2 separate regions of the Homo sapiens genome follow, and region 1 is linked to region 2. The links are contacts of gene promoters, found by promoter capture Hi-C in human tissues and cell types (Jung and others, 2019). All regions are on one chromosome and are shown on one strand. Each heading gives the region's core, a stretch centred on a gene start or on the middle of the fragment in contact. The rest is flanking DNA. Distances are from core to core; before and after follow the strand shown. Region 1 holds the start of LOC124902378 (a long non-coding RNA gene). Region 2 holds the start of NMT2 (N-myristoyltransferase 2).

Evidence for each region. The method cuts DNA at HindIII sites, captures the fragments that hold promoters and counts their contacts. A contact is called where the count stands out against the background at its distance.
Region 1: a fragment that was not itself captured here is called in contact with the fragment with the promoter of NMT2 in region 2 in 1 of the 25 tissues and cell types used here (pancreas).

Annotation. Positions count from the first base shown.
Region 1 is chr10:14,179,905-14,183,303 of GRCh38, reverse strand. The region is part of intron 2 of FRMD4A (FERM domain containing 4A); the gene reads left to right. It overlaps LOC124902378 (a long non-coding RNA gene), which reads right to left and starts at 414. Exons shown (of 2, transcript XR_007062060.1): 1 at 333-414. RefSeq lists an enhancer at 1,760-2,054. The HindIII fragment of the contact is 3,305 bases long and covers 1-3,220 here.
Region 2 is chr10:15,167,337-15,170,948 of GRCh38, reverse strand. NMT2 (N-myristoyltransferase 2) reads left to right here and starts at 2,256. Exons shown (of 12, transcript NM_004808.3): 1 at 2,256-2,446. The coding sequence starts at 2,337. It also overlaps the pseudogene LOC124902566. RefSeq lists a silencer at 2,057-2,886. The HindIII fragment of the contact is 12,871 bases long and covers 1-3,612 here.

The DNA of each region.
Region 1 (3,399 bases), core at 319-2,818, 990 kb after region 2:
TAATGTGTAACTTTCCAAGACACCACTAATGATATAAAGTGAACTCTGTCTGCACATTATTTCATTCGTGCATGACACATAACTTTTCAAATAAAGTGAGGTGTAAATTCAATTTTAAATTAAGAAAAATCGAGTCTAAGACCATATAATCTGGAGATCACTTATCAGCACTCTGTAAACTTCAGTGTTCTTGTTTTTCTCTTCAAATATGTTACTGCCTAGCTCTATGCTTTTTCAGCATGGGTCAGTCTCTCTGTCTGAAGTCCTCCCTCACCTCCTACACATCTCCACCCCATCCTGCTTACGACAGCCCCACGCACCAACATCCTAACCTCCTCCAGATGGTCAAAGCCACCTTCAAGAATAGGATTTCCCTTGAAGCAGCCTAATCAACAATCCCAGGTGAAATGAGTACTTCTCCCAACGTTTGCTTCCACTTGAATTGTTCAACCCTCCTGCTAGTTCTCACTCAGTAGAATTCAGAAGGTTTCTGTGATTGTTACCTCTAATCCTTGGAGTTCTTAAATTTTTCAACAGCCTTCACCTGTACTCTTCACACTGGTAACCTCAGGGCAGAGCCCCCGGTCGAACCTGCCTTAAAGGAGGTTCTCAGCATATGTGTCCACCTTGAAGGAACCTAGGAACATCCCTGTACCAAGGAGTTCATGAGTTACTTTTAGGGTAGATGATGGGGGTCTCTTTCACACCCCTACCATGAAGGATAGGCCAATTAGAGAAAAAAAAAATTTTTGTCTTGTCAGACTTCTCTTGCTCTGTTGTCCAGGCTGGAGTGCAGTGGCAAGATCAGAGATCACTGCAGCCTCAAACTCCTGGGCTCAAACTCTCCTCCTGCCTTAGCCCTCCAAGTAGCTGAAACTATAGGCATGTGCCACCTTGCCTGGCTATTATTATTATTTTTTATTTTTTGTAGAGACAGTGTCTTCTTATGTTACCCAAGCTGGTCTTGAACTACTGGCCCCAAGCAATTTCATTGCCTGAGCCTCCGAAAGCACTGGGATTCCAGGCATGTGCTACTGCACCCTATCTCTCTCTCTTTTTAAAAACACAGCTTGAGAGTTCAAAGAAGTCTTAGAAGCAGAAACTGTGTCAACTCCCATCTCCATTGATCACTATCATTTTTGTCCCCTCCCCAGTCTAGGTTTGATAAACAATTATACGGCAGTTTGGTAGTAGTGTTGGGGTTGCCTCTTATAAAGAAAAAGCCACAAATAAACAAAGCTTTTGAAAGTGGTTTGTCCAAGTCGTGACAATCCTGAACATTTTGACAGAAATATCAAGAAAAGATGTAGTCCGGGTACCGTGGCTCACGTCTGTAATCCCAGCATGCACTTTGGGAGGCCGAGACGGGCAGATCACTCAAGTTCAGGAATTCAAGACCAGCCTGGTCAATATGGCAAAACCCCATCTCAACTAAAAGTACACAAATTAGCTGGGCATGTTGGTGCACATCTGTAGTCCCAGCTGCTGGGGAGGCTGAGGCAGGAGGATTGCTTGAGCTTAGGAAGCCGAGGTTGCAGTGAGCTGTGATTGTGCCCCTGCACTCCAGCCTGGACAACAGAGTGAGACCCTATCTCAAATAAAAAAAATTCATGGTAATCATTTCACAATGCGTACATATATCAGAACATAGTGTTTTATACCAGAAATATGTGCAATTTTTATTTGTCAAAAATTAAAATGTTTCCCTACATAATTTCTGTCGCACAATTCTTTAGTTTGGAGCTTGGAAATAACCCAACAAAAGCGGGAGGTAAAAATGCTACCCTGCATGCTAACTTTGCAGGAACATCCAACTGCTTCCCCTCTGTGACGACGGGAAGAAGGAGGCATTGCTTCCGCCCAGATGCCTGTCTCTCAGCTTTCTCCTTATCTGGGCTCCCAGAGGTCTTCTGAGCAAACACGGGGCAGCGATCTGGGGCTGCAGCAGCTGTCGGTTTTCTTCTCCCTCTTGACAAAAGTACTTAAACCACAAACCTTAAGGAAAAAAACAAAAAAAAGAAAAAAGTGGAAATACCTCTTTTCAAACACGGGAAAATAATGTCACTCTGCTCTTTAGATGTTTTCATAAAACATCGGGGCAGGTAGAGAACCATTTCCAGCTGAAGTGTTTATGATAATGAAGAAAAGCAGTTTTATTTTTCCCACTGTGAGACACTTTTTCGGAAAGGCAAGAACTGCTGAAGGGAAAAGTCTCCAAGGGCTAGATTCCAATTAACTTCTGTACCGATTGCTGATAACTTTAGGCAATTGCTGTTCTTTAGAAAATGGGGCAGAGTCTAAAAGATCATAAAGACGAGATGACTGATCAAGGCATAGAACCTCATACCGTGTTTTCCTCAGTGTGCCACAATTTTAAGGAATTGTAAATAAAATACAGTAGATCCTATACTTGACATTCAATAACATAGAAGTGCCGGAATGTGTGTCTTGGAGCTTAGACATTGATCTGGGGTCTGGAAAATAGTAATCATACAACCCATCACTGCGCATGGGTGAGCCACAGAAATGTGACAGCATTGGAAGAACTTGAAATTTTTGGAGTGAGAAAACCTGCGTTTGGAGTTCTAGTCAGCTCTGCTCCACAGTTTAGGAACTCTCATCTTGGATTAGGAATCGTATCCATTGGCTGCATAACAAATGCAATGCCTGGTGCCACACAGTAATAGGCATTGGTTTTTCAGAAGACTGTAGAGTTTTGCTGATGTAGGCTGGGCTCAGCTGATCTTGGCTAGTCTCACTCATTTGTGATTCTCTGGCTTGCTCGTAAGTCTGTAATGGAGGTTGGGTCTTCTGTTATCCTCCCGTTGGAATCAGCAGACTAGCGTGGGTGTATCTTTCCCATGCGCATTTCAAAATTCTGCTTGTACCGCCTTTGCTAGCCTTCTATCCATACTTGGGGAAAAAGAGAGGGTGGCAAAGTCACACAGCAAATTGCATGGATAACAAAATGTATGAATAATCAGGACCAAATGATGCTATCTACTACCATACTTAATGCTCTCAATCTCAGGTCATCATATGTTAAATGGGAATAATAATACACCTGTTAAAATTAAGTGAGATGACACTGAAGAGTATCTAGCTCAAGCCCTGGAACAAAGCTGATGCTCAATAAATATTACTCTTCTATTCACCTCTCCAATCTTATAAAATGAAAATGAATACCTGCCACATCTCATGGGATCATTGTGAGGTTTGTTTTTTGTTTGTTTGTTTTTTGGTTTTGTTTTTGTTTTGCTTTGTTTTTTTGATGGATTCTTGCTCTCTGTAGCCCAGGCTGGAGTGCAGTGGCACAATCTCAGCTCACCGCAACCTCCGCCTCCTGGATTCAAGCGATTCTCCTGCATCAGCCTCCTGAGTAGCTGGGACTATAGATGT
Region 2 (3,612 bases), core at 1,007-3,506:
TTCTCCTCTAAATGAATGAAATCATGTTGATGTAATCTATTGGAGATTACACTGATTAATAAATAACTGAAACTTGAAAAAATAATACACTGGCAGCCATTTCACAGTGCTCCCATCCACCAAATAAACTTTAGATCTAAGATGCTGGAAGTTGCCACTTGGTTCCAATTCTCCAAATTCTGAAATTAAGCCAGGGAAATAAGTAAAAATATTTAGAAACATAGTGTTTCTATACGGGACAGTAGGATTTAGGAAGCCCCAGGGTCATCTGTAAACTTTTCCTTCCTTCCAAAGATTAATGCTGTAAAACATTTGTATTATATAATACTTCAATCCAGTACTGTACCGATGTACTTCAATCCAGTACTGTACCAACTTGTTTCCATTCTGGGGAACAGATGTTCCCTGTTTGTCATTGTTTTCTAGTGTTTCACTGGTTTTTGATGCCCTCATTTTATTTTTCCAGGATTATTTGTTTTCTTATTCTTTTTTAGAGCAGTTCTTAGTCAAAACTTCTTGAAAATTCAGATAAATATATGACTGCTGAGTTTCCTTTGCCTTAAGTTTTAAAAACTCTTTTAGAGAACCCTTCTGGCAGGTTAGAGTGGATGATTTGATTGATAGGCTTGCTCCTGGCCAGTTTCCTGTTGGTTACCCGAGCGGGCTGCGGGTTCTCCAACAATCCATGTTCACAGAGATGAGCTGCAGGAACCTCACTCATCTGTATTTGCTTCTATCCTAAAGTTTCACAGAGGTGACATGTGACATTTTGCCTCAGAAATAGTTGCCGTTGTTAAAGGCAATATTGTATTTCCTTTTGTGTTTTGACCCCATTTGCCCTTCTTACAGAATTTTAGTTGTCTCAATGCCAAACAGCTGACGGGCTTTGAAATCGCTCTGCAGTTTTCATCTTTTGATACTTCTAGCTCATTGCGTTTTAAAAACATAGTCTCCCTTGGGGAAAAAAGCCATAAAATGCTCCTAGTATCTTCTGCAAAAAAAGGACCCACACCAAAAAATTCAGGTGGCTCTTTAAAGTCTCATTTTCCTCACTGAGCGGGTTCTGATGATTATCTTTGCAAAACCACTGCGGAGACTTCCGGTGGCCTAGCAGCACATTTGAACAAGATCATCTCAGCAAAGCAAAGGACAGGACTGCTCTGTACAGAATGCAGTAGCAAATAAGAGAGGCTGAACTTCACCGGTCTTCTATTTGGCAGTACTACAGAATGCCTCCCTTCCCTCTTCTGAGAGAGACAGCGGACAATTTCAGCACAGAAGGCCGTGCACGTTTGCTTGGAAATCTAGGTCATGACCTTGACTTTGGGAAAGCCAGGGTAGCCTACCTGAAACTGTCCAATCCCCCAGCATCGTGGACACGTCCCCAAGTCCCTCAAGATGTCTGTTCTGGTCTGAGCCGTCCGTAGTAGTGTCCAGGGAAAGCAGGGGTAGCTCAAAAATTTCTGTCAAGAGTTTTAGTGCTGCAAGCCTGGTTGGGACAGGGCGGTGGAGGGCTGGAAATACTGTTTTTGACTTTGAATTTGATTTTATAATGTATTAGATGGATAGATAGATGCGAAATGGAATTGTTAACATGTATGTGGAGGGGCGGGAAGAGTTTCTGGAAAGCCCCATCCCTGAGTGCCTACTCCTGAGTGGGAAAAACCCCTGCACGGGCTGGGAGCGCTCCCTAATTCGTCCAGAAGTAAAATCGCATGGCCTGTGTTCCAAAAATGCCGCCACTCAGGATGTCAAGTCTGCACGTTTGCAGCTTTGAGAGCCGAGCCCCAGGCAGAGGCACCGCGCAGGCCTGGATGTACAGGACTCGGCCCTGTGCAGGGCTGGCCAGGGTGAGCAGGGTTGGAGCTGGCGGGGCGGGGAGGGGCGGGGCCATCTGGGAGGGGCTGCGGCGGTGGGCGGGGTTAGAGGGCGGGTTTGAAGCCGGCAGGGTGGGGAAAGGCGGGGCTGGAGGGGAGGGGTCTCAGAGGCGGGCGGGGTTAGAGAGCTGGATTGAAGCCGGCGGGACGGGGAGAGGCGGGGCTTGGTGGGGAGGGACGAAGAGGTGGGCGGGGTTCAAGCCCGTGGGGCAGGGCGGGGCCGGCGGGCAGGGCGGGGCCGGCGGGCTGGGCGCGGACGGTGAGGGGCGGGGATGGAGGGCGGGGCGGGACGGAGGGCGGGGAGGGGGCGGGACGGAGGGCGGGACGGGGCGCGGGCGGGGCGGGGCGGGGCGTAGCGCCCGGGCTCCGACTCCAAGCAGTACGGCGGGAGGCACTAGAGGGAGCTGCGGCCGCTCCGGCCCGGCCCCGAGCACCGCCTCCCCAGCCAGCGCCGCCGCGATGGCGGAGGACAGCGAGTCTGCGGCCAGCCAGCAGAGCCTGGAACTGGACGACCAGGACACGTGCGGGATAGACGGGGACAATGAGGAGGAGACGGAGCACGCCAAAGGGTAGGGGCGGCGCGCTGGCGCACCGGGCGCGACAGGGCGGGGACCGCGCGCGCCACGGTCTCCCGTTCGGGGGTGGCTCCCAGGACTGGGGGTTCTTCGGCCGCTCCGCCCCGCGATGGCTTCTCCGTGGCGCGGAGCCCATGGTGAGGTCCGGGGCGCGCGGCTCGCGGGAGAGTGCAGTGCGCGGGGAGGCGAGGCCCGGGGTGGGCGGGGAGGCTGGGGCCCGGGCGGGGAGACGCTACTGTCACTTGCCGCGCGCCCCCGGCCAGCCTCGCCCATCCCCGCCGGCGGCCTGGCCCAGGAGGCGCCTGTTGCCCTCGCCCGCGGGTGGCTCCGGTGGGCGCCGAGGAGAGGCGCTACGCCCTTCCCTTTGTGGCGGCCGCAGCCTGGGGTAGGAGGTCGCCCTCCTCTGCTCCCTGCCATCCTTGTTAAGTCCCTTCAGACTCCCTCTCCGCAGCCGCCACCCGAAAAGAATGGGCAAAGACGTGGGTGGAGCGGCGTGGAGGTGCCCCGATGGTGTCGGGGCCGCAGGCGGCGAACTGCGCAAAGTTCTGGCGCCGAGGGGGTCCCGGGCCCGGCCCCTGCTGGGGATACTGGGCTTTGCACCGCCTCGCCTGTCCCTAGAGCTCTTCAGAGCAGGGCCGATCCCCTGAACCGGGCTCCCGCTGACCTGGCCGTATCCTGTTTGCAAAGCTGGTATTTGATCTCCAAAACTCGATGCACCACGCATTTTCACACTTGATCGGATTTCTTAATCCTTTCCCTTTGCCCCCGAACCCTGCAGACTTGATTTGCTCTTCTGTTGGAGAAAAGGATTGCTTCAGGTGAAGGCCGGTGTTGATGCTCTCTTTTTAGAGGCAGTGGGTCATTTTAAATAAAAACTGGTGTCCTTTTAAAGTGCTGTTTACATTACCCTTTTACCCTATTGGATTCAAACTATGCGCTGGCACAGAGCGGTTCTTGCTACACCCTTAGAAGTGAGATTTTTCGAACCATGGTGAGTGATGGAGAAGTGGGTCAGCTTAAAAAACATGATAGGGAGGCCTGAGTCACAGATGGTTTACTCAGTTCGTAGAGAGATTCTTGAAATGATTGATCATTGAAAGTGTAAATCATTTGCATTCTACTTGTCTACTTTAAGATTTATTATAGAAAGGGACTTTTGA